Regions from separate parts of the Homo sapiens genome. Here all the other regions are linked to region 4. Evidence: promoter capture Hi-C in human tissues and cell types (Jung and others, 2019). All regions are on one chromosome and are shown on one strand. Each heading gives the region's core, a stretch centred on a gene start or on the middle of the fragment in contact. The rest is flanking DNA. Distances are from core to core; before and after follow the strand shown.

Evidence for each region. Contacts are between HindIII fragments. The study calls those that stand out against the background at their distance.
Region 1: a fragment that was not itself captured here is called in contact with the fragment with the promoter of RBMXL2 in region 4 in 1 of the 25 tissues and cell types used here (H1 embryonic stem cells).
Region 2: a contact is called between a fragment that was not itself captured here and the fragment with the promoter of RBMXL2 in region 4, in 1 of the 25 tissues and cell types used here (H1 embryonic stem cells).
Region 3: a fragment that was not itself captured here is called in contact with the fragment with the promoter of RBMXL2 in region 4 in 1 of the 25 tissues and cell types used here (H1 embryonic stem cells).

What each region holds. Positions count from the first base shown.
Region 1 is chr11:7,503,872-7,506,571 of GRCh38, forward strand. The region is part of intron 2 of OLFML1 (olfactomedin like 1); the gene reads left to right. Among named protein-coding and RNA genes, the nearest start is that of PPFIBP2, 8.8 kb to the right of the region's middle. The HindIII fragment of the contact is 4,572 bases long and covers 1-2,700 here.
Region 2 is chr11:7,556,423-7,559,274 of GRCh38, forward strand. All of the region lies in intron 2 of PPFIBP2 (PPFIB scaffold protein 2), which reads left to right. Among named protein-coding and RNA genes, the nearest start is that of PPFIBP2, 44 kb to the left of the region's middle. The HindIII fragment of the contact is 3,703 bases long and covers 1-2,852 here.
Region 3 is chr11:7,525,929-7,528,890 of GRCh38, forward strand. The region is part of intron 1 of PPFIBP2 (PPFIB scaffold protein 2); the gene reads left to right. The region is part of intron 1 of LOC124902806 (leucine-rich repeat extensin-like protein 5); the gene reads right to left. Among named protein-coding and RNA genes, the nearest start is that of PPFIBP2, 13 kb to the left of the region's middle. The HindIII fragment of the contact is 3,969 bases long and covers 1-2,962 here.
Region 4 is chr11:7,087,647-7,090,607 of GRCh38, forward strand. It overlaps RBMXL2 (RBMX like 2), which reads left to right and starts at 1,352. Exons shown (of 1, transcript NM_014469.5): 1 at 1,352-2,961. The coding sequence starts at 1,475. The coding sequence ends at 2,653. It also overlaps a transcript of NLRP14 not described here. The HindIII fragment of the contact is 18,438 bases long and covers 1-2,961 here.

The DNA.
Region 1 (2,700 bases), core at 6-2,505, 420 kb after region 4:
ATTCATTCAGAAAATATGGAACTACTATGTGCCAGATGCTATTCTAGGAACAAGGCATACAGTAGTGAATGAAACAGATAAGACAAAGCTTATACCCTCATGGAGTTTATATTTTATTGAGGGGAATTAAGCAATAATATGCTAATAACAAATGTATGTCAGACAAAAGATAATAAGCACTATGGAGAAAAATGATCTAGGGTAAAGGAGTCCCTGGAGAGCTGGAGAAGAGGGTTGCCTTTTTTATAGGGTGACGGGAAAAGGTCTAAATGACCAAGGACCATTTGAGAACAGGCATAAAGGCAGCAAGGGAGGAAGTCATGTAGATATTTGTTTCCAAGCAGAGGGAACGAAAAGTGCCAAGTCCCCAAGGCAGGAGTGTGTTTGGTACAATCTGAGAAATAGCAGAAGTCAGTGTGATAGAACAAAACGAACAAGGTGGAGAAGTTGTAGGGGACAAGGAGAGGGAGAACAAAGAGAGAAGCAGTAGGAGAACAGCTTATATGTGGCTTTGGAGGTAAAGGCCTGAGCTTTATCCATTTCACTCTGAGTGAAATGAGAAGCCAATGGAGGGTTTCAAGCAGACACAGGACATGATGTGACTTACATTTTAAAAGCACGCCTTTGGCTGCTGTGGGAATTGGACTATGGGAGGCAAGTATGGAGGCATGAACACCATGTAGGAGACTGCTACAGTAGTCCAGGCAGGAGATGATGTAGTTCTCCTAGGATTGCTTCTACTTTCTCACGGAGTAAGTGGGAAGATCTCCATGCGAGGGTATGACAGAGGCTTGCAGGGAGATGAGAAAGTGTGATAGTCATATGGAAAGCATGATAGGACTGCTGCCCACACAGCTGGCATATAGCAAACAGTTTGCTAACATGCTTGCTTACCTCCGAACCTCTGGAACCCATCTCACTATGCATCTCTCTTCCTCCTGTCCAGTCTTCTTTCCTTCATCCTGTTTCTTGTCCTCTGACTCCAGTTGACCTTCAGTGGGCTTTAAGAACCCAAGCACTGATTAGGAAAATGACAACCTGCTGCTGACACATCCAGCATTTTTTTTTTTTTTTTAGACAGGGTCTGGCTCTCTCACTCAGGCTGGAAAGCAGTGGCACAATCTGAGCTCACTGCAATCTCCACCTCCTGAGTGCATGTGACCCTCCTACCTCAGCCTCCTGAGTAGCTGGGACTACAGGTACACGCCCCCACACCTAGCTAATTATTGTATTTTTTTTTTTTTTAGAGATGGGGTCTCACTCTGTTGCCCAGGCTGGTCTTGAACTCCTGAGATCAAGTGATTTGTCTGCCTTGGCCTTCCACAGTGCTGGGCTTACAGGTGTGAGCCACGGTGCCTGGTCCACATCCAGCTTCTTATACCAAACCCTTTCAAAGGATTTGAAGGAGCTCCTCAGAGTGCTCAGTTGTCCTTTAAAGACTCTATCTAACTATCATTCCACTACCTCACACCCAGAAGTCAATGAGGGAGGCCCAGCATTCCTATGCTCTTATTAAGACTACTCTTTCCTACCCATAATAGAAACCTCAGCAGGATTTGAGGTAGACCTGCAAGTTTCCTCATGCTCCTAGCAAGACCACCACTCCCTGCTTCCATGACACTACTCATCTCACAACGGATGGCCTGACAAGGCAGTCCCAACAAGAAGTCCACAACTGGATTGGAGTGGTGTCTCATGCCTATAATCCTAGCACTTTGGGAGGCCAAGGCAGTAGGACCACTTGAGTCCTAGAGTTTGAGACTAGCCTGGGCAACATAGTAGACCTCATCATTGCAAAAAATAAACAAAATTAGCTGGACCTGGTGGTATGCATCTTTAGTACCAGCTACTCAGGAGGAGAAGGTGGGGGGATTGCTTGAGCTCGGGAAGTTGAGGCTACAGTGAGCCACGATCATGCCACTGCACTCTAGCCTGTCTAATAGAGTAAAAACCTGTCTCACCTGTCTTAAAAAAAATGTCCAAAATTAGAACTGATGACCGACTTATCTTGAAATGACCAGTAGAGCTGATCTTATCCTGATTCATATCAATCTTCAAGGAGGAAGAACTGACCATGCTCCAGAAAGATCAAGTAAAATATGGACACAAAAGGTCTATTTGAGTTTTCAGTTATAAGGTTCCTGGTAACATTATAAAGAATAATTTCTATGGAGTTATGGTGAAGTAAAAGAATGGGAGGTGAAGATGTAGATACAGAGTATAGCCTACTCTGTAGGAGAAGCTGGCTATAAAATGATGGAAAGAGAAATGAAGCAACTAGAAAAAGGTGCCTAGTTGAAGGTGAATTGTTGTTGTTGTTTTAATATAGGCTAGATGCTTATAAGCTAAGAATCTAGTAACAAAGGAGAAATTAAAGATAACAGAAAAGGGATAATTCATCAAGGAAGTCTAGAAGAAGCCAGGAAAGGATGAGATCACAGTACAAGTGAATATATTAGTCTTGGACAGGAGAAATGACACAGTTTCTTCTAAGATGTGTGTGAGGGTAGCGACAGGGGAACAACTAAAGAAAAGTTTATAAGTGAGGAGAGGAAGTGAAAAGAGTTCATGTCTAATGGTATTTGTTTTTTCAAAGGAGTTAATCTGCTGTTGGTGAAGGGACTGGCCAGGGCGGGGTGTGTGGGGCAGTGTGGGGAAGATATAAGATAGCTATTGTGTGAAGATGGTGGGCTAACCATG
Region 2 (2,852 bases), core at 257-2,756, 470 kb after region 4:
GGGTGACAGAGCCAGACTCTGTCTCAAAAAATAAAATAAATAATACTTGACTCTTAGAATGCTTTAATTCTCATCACTGCCCCATCTTCCACATTATTTTCGTTCAGTATTCTAGTATCTTTGTATTCTCCAAATTATTGTTTTTTCAGTTGATAGCATTTTGTTTAACAGTTTTAACAACCTCTCCAGTCATAGTTGATTCTTTCATCCTGCTTTTTTTGCATGATAGTTTTCTTCCTTAAAATTTGATAGTCTGTCAGTAATAGATTGTATTAGTCGTCATTTGAAAAATGTCCTTAAATGTTCATAATCTTGAATGATAGTTTATCTTGTACAGGCTTGTAGGTTGGTCACTATCCATAGGTATTATTTTGTGGTCACAGGGATTTATTGCTAATGAGAAGTCTGGCAATCTGTATCTGTCTTCTGTCTCTGGTTGTTTTTAAACTTCTTATTTATCTTTGGTGTTCTTCAGTTTCACTGTGTTGTTTCTTGGGTGGATTTGTTTTGATGTATCATTCTTGGGACTCAGTGAGTGTCTTTAAGCTGAGAGGACTCAAGTTTTCCATTCTGAAAAATTCATAGCCATTTTCTTTGTTGTCTCTGCTTCATCCTCTGTATTCTTCTGGAATTCCTGAAGAATTGTGTTGGACCTTGTCCTCCTTTTTTAATTCCATGCTTCCTAACTCCTCTTTTATATTTTTCACTTGTGTCTCTGTTTGCAGCATTCTTCAAATCTATCTTCCTCTCCAATAATTCTCTCATCTGCTATTTAACCTGTTCACTTAATTAATTTGCTTGGCTGCATTCTTTATTTTGGTTTGTATTTTTTTTTTCAGATTTTCCTATTTTTTAAAATCATGCTTTCCTTTTCTTTAAGGTTTTTATTTCTTCCTTTTCTCCTTTAATTATGTAAAACATATGACATATGCCCAAATATTCCCAAATAGACAAAATATTTACTCATATTAGTGTATTGATTTAGTTACGTGTTTAAGCACTAAGTAAAAGGCTTTCAATAATTCAAAATAATATGTTAATTTATGAACTTCTTGTCTCATTGGCACTTTTTTTTTTTTTTTTTTTTGAGACAGAGTCTTGCTCTGTTGCCCAGGCTGGAGTACAGTGGCATAATCTTGGCTCACTGAAACCTCCATCTCCTGGGTTCAAGCAATTCTCAGCCTCCTGAGTAATTGGGATTACAGGTGCCCACCACCATTCCCATCACTGGCACATCTGATGAAATAATTTTATTCAAGCTTTTTATATTTATCTTTGTTTCTATCATTTTGAGCGCTCTTTTTGAATAATCCTAGCATTCTAGAGCAGTTGTAGAGCATTTGGGGATGCAGATTCATATTTGTAGGTCTGGGATGGGATCCGAGACTGTATTTCTAATGAACTCTCAGGTTTTGCTATTGCTACTCCTGTGGACCCCTCTTTTAAGTGGCAAGGTTTTAGAACATGCCATCCTTACTTGGAATTTGTTTTAAATACAACACTTTAAAAATTCACATATGATGCTGTCATCAGCTATTTCATCTCATGCCAAAGAACTCCATTTACGTGGTAAAAGGTTAGACTTTAAAAGTTTATCTTGTCTATATGTCTTAATTGTACAAAATATATATTTTGCATGAATGAAGATAGGCTAAGTTATATTGCAGTGAGAAACTACTCAAATGTCAGTAGTTTGAAACACAAAGGTTTATTTCTTGTACACATTGCAAGTTCCCTGAGATCTGCCAAGAGCTCTGGTCCTTGTCATCTTCACTTGAACACAGACTGATTGAGTCTCCACTATTGCCAGAAGTCAGGGCAGGTGGAAGAGATATGAGGAATTGTGTACTGGCTCTTAGACTTTCTCCCACAGTGATACACATGGTTTCTGTTTATTGGCCAAAGGAAGTTATGTGACCATGAGTGACTTCAAGGGACAGAACTGTGAGCCTACTATGAATGCAAGTAGAGGAGAACAAAATATCTGAACAACCCCAGTCACTACCACAGACATCCCTATGTGCTTTCGAAAGCGATCATTAAAAGGCTTTCAGCTGGCTGCGGTGGCTCACGCCTATATCCCAGCACTTTGGGAGGCTGAGGCAGGCAGATCACGAGGTCAGGAGTTCGAGACCAGCCTGGGCAATATGGCAAAACCCCGTCTCTACTAAAAAAATACAAAAATTAGCCAGGCGTGGTGGCGCGTGCCTGTACTCCCACCTACTCGGGAGGCTGAGGCAGGAGAATTGCTGGAACCTGGGAGGCGGAGGTTGCAGTGAGCTGAGATCACGCCACTGCACTCCAGCCTGGGTAACAGAGCAACTCTGTCTCAAAAAAAAAAAAAGAAAGAAAAAAAGGCTTTCAATGAAATCCTATAACACTTGCATTGTATGTGGTCTTATCCTCAAAAATAATTATTAAATCTTCATTAAATTTTGGTTTTGCTCCTTAAAATAAAAATTCTCAGGTGACCTCTATAACCATCAAAGCTAGACTTCATTGAGGTGATCTGCTAGTGCCATGGTTTCAGCTTAAGCATCATTTTAGTATCACCTGGGAAACTTTTTATTACCCCAGGTCACACCTCAGACCAATTAAATTAGAATCCCTGGAGGAGGGCCCAGGCATCTGGAGTTTGTAAAACCGCTCAGGTGACTTCAATGTGCATTGAAAGTTGAAAATATTTGTGCTACTCTAAATACTGCTTTGTTGCTCAAAATGAAATAAATAGAATTCCCCAAAGAGAAACTTTAGGCTTGACTGTAAGTTGAATTACCCTTTTCTGAGAAATCTGGGGGGCAAATCTTGCCTTATATTTAGGCATATCCAGCATTAGTGGTTTATGGTGTCTT
Region 3 (2,962 bases), core at 447-2,946, 440 kb after region 4:
AGGTGGGCAAGGTGGGCAGCATGTTCTTTGTTGCTCAGAGGGCAGAGATGAAGGCCTATGGTAGTGATGTCAAAGAAAACTAAAGACGGAGCAGATTCTACTTTGACATAATGTAAGAAATTTTAAAGAACTCAGGCTTGTCTCTAGGGCCAAACCGCTGTTTTAGAGCAGATATTGGAGTCTACCTGCAAAGGGTATTGTTCAAGCAGTATTGACTAGAGAGGAGTTTATGAAATAACAGGGAGGAAGGTATACTGAAAGGTTATAGATCTAACTAAAGTGCTGTAAGATTTTGGCAAAGGGAAGGCTTTGTGGATCAACCAACTGGGGTGGGATCCTGGGGAGCTGGGAAGAAAAGGCTCTCTGGGGATCCCTGGTCAGTCAAGTGAGTAAAAGGCATAGAAGCCCAAGTGAGTGAAGTGGGATCGAGAAATAATAAGGAAACCAGCTTAGCTAGACTCTTCCCATTATTAAAAGTCAAAGAAAGAAGTTGGGACTCTAAGGGAAAAGGAACTTGAATGCCAAACTAAGAAGCTGGACTTTACCCTGTCGGTAGTGGGGAATAATTGGTGGCTTCTGAGCAGAAATGACTTGCAGCAGATGTAGGCTGGAGTGAGGGTGGGAGGCTGGGGAAAGAGCAGCCTTAAAGCTGTGCAGAAGCGGCCGGGTGCGGTGGCTCACGCCTGTAATCCCAGCACTTTGGGAGGCCGAGGGTGGGCAGATCACGAGGTCAGGAGATTGAGACCATCCTGGCTAACACGGTGAAACCCCATCTCTACTAAAATACAAAAAATTAGCCCGGCGTGACTATGCGGAAGCTTCTCTATCCCAAGTCGCAGGCTGAACATCCCACTTAGTGACAAGGGCTGGGAGAGGGGAAAGGCTCTGAGCAAATGTCTTTGTGGGCTGAAAATGAGACTATGATCCCAAGAAGTGACTGGACTGTGTATATTCTTTGCTGATGCCTACCTTGGCCCAACCATCTGAAAGCTGTTTTAGACTCACTTGCCACCCCTTGAAGATTTTGAGAACACACCATCCTGAGACCTGGAGAACCAGGGTATGTGGTGTGAGACAGCTGGGTTCACAGCATCCTAGAGGGCATAGCAGGTATAGAAGGGAGTGATCCAGGAGGACACTGGTCACAAGAATGTCCTCCTGGATCACTCCCTTCTATACCTACCATACCCTAGGAAGTCTGACTGTCTGCACCTTGGGCCATAGAGTGAGCAAGGTTCCATCCCTGGGAGGGGAGGCAAGGAAGGGATGTGGGTACCAGGGCCTCATTCAAGTAGGCTGAGGTTTTGGGTGGGGTGTGGTGTATGGGAGGAGAGAGTTGCTGTGGTTAGGCAACGTGGATGTCTGAGCAGTGTGATATCTTGGTCTGGGTGGCAGGGAAGGAGTCTGGCAAGAATGGTAGGAAGAGTGGCCATGGAACCCCAAGGTCAGAACTGGCCCATTGGATCTGGGGAAACCTACCCTTTAGCAGCAGAGGTAGAGCATACTTCTCAGGTACTGTGGAATCAGTAGGATTGTGACAGTATTTATTATTTCAGCCTCTAAATAATTTTTGAACCATTGTCTATGCTGAGAATGGTGATGATGGGACCACAAGATGAACAGACATGTCCCCTGACTGAATGGAACTTAAGAAATGTACCCCCTTACTCAAACAGATAGTAGTAACTGCTGAGAAAATACAGTTAATATTCAGAGAAAGATGTTGGGGGGGCCTGGCTTGCTGAGGAGGTGGCATTTGAGGTGTGTCCTGAAGGAAAGACAGGGACCAGAGTTGCCCGTTTCTATGGGGCTGAAGGGAATTGCTGGCAGAGGGAACAGCAGTGCACAAAGGAAGGCATGAGTAATGCCAATTAAGGGGCACCTGTGGAAAACAACTGGCGGCATGATTTGGCTGGAACTGAAGAGTAAACGAAGTTAAATAGGGCACCAGGGATTGGAAATTACCGTCTATGAAGTACCCATCATGCATCAGGCATTGAGCACAGAGTCTGTGCTCACTTAAATTTCAAAGCAGCCTTTCAGGGCTTTAACTGAGGAGGAAATGGGCTTCAAGAAGATACCTGATCATCTCAAGTTTCCCTAGGTGGTGAGTGGCCAAAATAAAATTGATGTCCAGGCTGCCTGACCCCAAACTCTGTTCTTTCCACTTAATCTTGCCACTATGTTTAGAGTCCAGATTATGCAGTCTTAAATTTACAGTGAAGACCTGTTCTTACCGTATTTAGGCAGGAAGATGGTCAGATGGCACATGGCAAACCACATTAACCTTTGAGAGGCACTTAGTGGACATGGCCAGATAGTCACAAAGCATATCTGAGTTCTAATACATATATATGCATGCATACACATATATATTTAGGAAGTTAATCTCTAACTTCCTAAATGCAGTTTTCACATTACAATAGAAACTGTTACTCCCAGACCACTATAGGCAATTTCTGAATTGCTGGCTGAATTCCAGTATTTTCTCATCCCTTCAATAAAGTATATTAGAATGGGGCAAGATAAGCCTGAATCTTCTCTAATTTATACAAAAAGCTTCTATCATTAGTAACAAGTTACCTACAACCAACCTTACCTGTTTAGGATACCAAGGTGTCAGCCCTAAGAGATGTTTAGCAAGAGTGGTACTCCAAGAGGTTTGGAAGCGTGGGATGAGGGTAAGAGTCAGAGAAATGTGGGCAGTAACCCAGGTGGGGCTGTAGGGGTTGAGAGGAGGGACCGATACAGTTCAGTAAGCATTTGCTGAGAGCCTGCCCATGCAGGGGTGTAGAGTGGGTGCTGGGATACCTGCATGAAAGGACAACATTGTTTTCACAGATCACATGTTCAAGCTCTGAGCAGGTGGGTGTTGGTGAGGACTGCCTGCTCAAGTTGGGGTTCTTATGCGTATATCTAGTACAGTCAGCCAGTCTTTGTTGCTGAGCAGGTCTGCCCAGGG
Region 4 (2,961 bases), core at 102-2,601:
ATTCAATAAAAACATTAAGGGCAGTCATTCGAAAAAGTAGAAATAGAAGGCATAACTTCTTCCATAGTGGAGGAAAAAGAAACAAAGACAAATCACTTACTACAAGAAAAGGCAAGAAAGATGGAAAAAAGGAAGAAGGAAAGGTTTGGCTGATAGCAAAGATTTAGGAAGAAATTGCAAAAGTACCGAAAGTTATAAGCATCACACAAAATGGACTAAGGTAAAAAGGTTTTTACGAATAAGGAGGATCATTACATAAAAAAGGTATTCACCAGAAATACGTAGCAATTCTCAATTTTTATATATCTCACAATATAACCTTAAATTACATGAAGCAAAAACCAGACATAAAGACAAAGAGAAATTTACAAATCCACAATTATGGTAAATTTTAAGACAGTTCTAGTGTTTGGCAATTCTATCAAATAAAAAACAAGTTAGAAAAGGGAAGATTTAAATATCAGAAAATAAGAAAGAACTTTGTCCAACATTTAGAGAATACACTTTCTGCTCAGTATATATGGAACATTAATTACACCATATTAGGTCACAAAGCAAGTCTCAACGAAAAACAATGGATATCGTACAGAGCATATTAAAAAATAACCAACAGGCACATATGTTTGAAAATTTACAAACATACTTCTTTAATACATGGTCCAAAAAGGAAATAACAAAGATGAGAAAATCTTAGGAACTGAACAACAATGAAAACAACATATATTACAGCTCAAGGCATGATATTAACCAGTGCATAGAGAATAAGTTTTAACCTTAAATATAACAATTAGAAGAAACATTTTTTAAACTCTTAATGTGCTAAGTGTCTTATTTAAAAAATTAGAACAAAATAATATAAACAATAAATCCAATAAATGTAGAAAGAATAAAGACAATAGCACCAAATAAAATCAAAACAGAGGATAGACGAGGCTAAAAGCTGATTAGTTTAAAAAGATCAGTAAGGTAAAATTTAAACTTGTTAACTGTTATTACTCTATTTTTCAATAATTGAAAAATGATTTTTAACTTAATAATTTTAGTAATTTAAAAAATTCATACTATTTTTTTCTGTTTGAAAATGGTTTGGGTAGCTTAGGTTTGGGATCATTACAATTGTTCTCATTAAAACTAATAGAAAAAAATTTTTTTCCACCTAACGGCTTTTCCCTGAGCTTTCAGGAGGCCATTGAAGCCGTTAAGACCGGGTCAGGTGAACAGGAAGTTAAAGACTGAAAAGGAGACACAAAACTGCCGACTTTCCCGACGGCGAATTGGCCCTCTGGAAACAGCCGACCAATCACAGGCAGCAGGGGCGCGCCCTGCAGCGGGGCTCCGGCTGCGGTTCCGTGGACTCGGCGACTAGGCGCCGCCTGACCAGTAGGAGCCGCCCTCGACGAGCGAGCTCGAAGGCTGCGACTGGCGCCGCCTCACCGCCTCCCACCGCCACTGACCGACCGTTCGACCGGCAAACATGGTTGAAGCGGATCGCCCGGGGAAGCTGTTCATTGGGGGCCTCAACCTCGAAACCGACGAGAAAGCCCTCGAAGCCGAGTTTGGCAAGTATGGCCGCATCGTCGAGGTGCTCCTGATGAAAGACCGAGAAACCAACAAGTCGAGGGGCTTCGCGTTCGTCACCTTTGAAAGCCCCGCAGACGCCAAGGCCGCCGCCAGAGACATGAACGGCAAGTCCCTGGATGGTAAGGCCATCAAGGTGGCCCAGGCCACCAAACCGGCGTTCGAGAGCAGCCGGCGGGGCCCGCCGCCTCCCCGCAGCCGCGGTCGCCCGAGGTTCCTGCGCGGAACCCGCGGGGGTGGCGGCGGCCCGCGGCGTTCCCCATCCCGGGGCGGGCCCGATGATGACGGCGGCTACACGGCGGATTTCGACCTGCGGCCCTCCAGGGCCCCGATGCCCATGAAGCGTGGGCCGCCGCCGCGCAGGGTCGGCCCACCCCCCAAGAGGGCCGCGCCGTCGGGCCCGGCTCGCAGCAGCGGCGGTGGAATGCGCGGGAGGGCCCTGGCCGTGCGGGGGCGAGACGGCTACTCAGGCCCACCGCGCCGGGAGCCGCTGCCCCCGCGCCGCGACCCCTACCTGGGCCCGCGGGATGAGGGCTACTCGTCCAGAGACGGCTACTCGAGCCGAGACTACCGCGAACCCCGGGGTTTTGCCCCCTCGCCCGGAGAGTACACCCACCGCGATTACGGCCACTCCAGTGTCCGGGACGACTGTCCCTTGAGAGGCTACAGCGACCGAGACGGCTACGGAGGTCGCGACCGTGACTACGGGGATCATCTGAGCAGAGGCTCCCATCGAGAGCCCTTTGAGAGCTACGGAGAGCTGCGCGGCGCCGCCCCAGGACGGGGGACACCGCCATCTTACGGAGGAGGAGGCCGCTACGAGGAGTACCGGGGCTACTCACCCGATGCCTACAGCGGCGGCCGCGACAGTTACAGCAGCAGTTATGGCCGGAGCGACCGCTACTCGAGGGGCCGACACCGGGTGGGCAGACCAGATCGTGGGCTCTCTCTGTCCATGGAAAGGGGCTGCCCTCCCCAGCGTGATTCTTACAGCCGGTCAGGCTGCAGGGTGCCCAGGGGCGGAGGCCGTCTAGGAGGCCGCTTGGAGAGAGGAGGAGGCCGGAGCAGATACTAAGCAGGAACAGACTTGGGACCAAAAATCCCTTTTCAACGAAACTAACAAAAAGAAGAACCTGTTGTATGGTAACTACCCAAGGACTAGTACAAGGAAGAGTTGTTTTTACCTTTTAAGAATTTCCTGTTAAGATCGTCTCCATTTTTATGCTTTTGGGAGAAAAAACTTAAAATTCGTTTAGTTTAGTTTTGGAATTGTTAACGTTTCTTTCAACAAGCTCCTGTTAAAAGTATATGAACCTGAGTACTAGTCTTCTTACATTTACAAGTAGAAATTCGATTAATGGCTTCTTCCCTTGTAAATTTTCT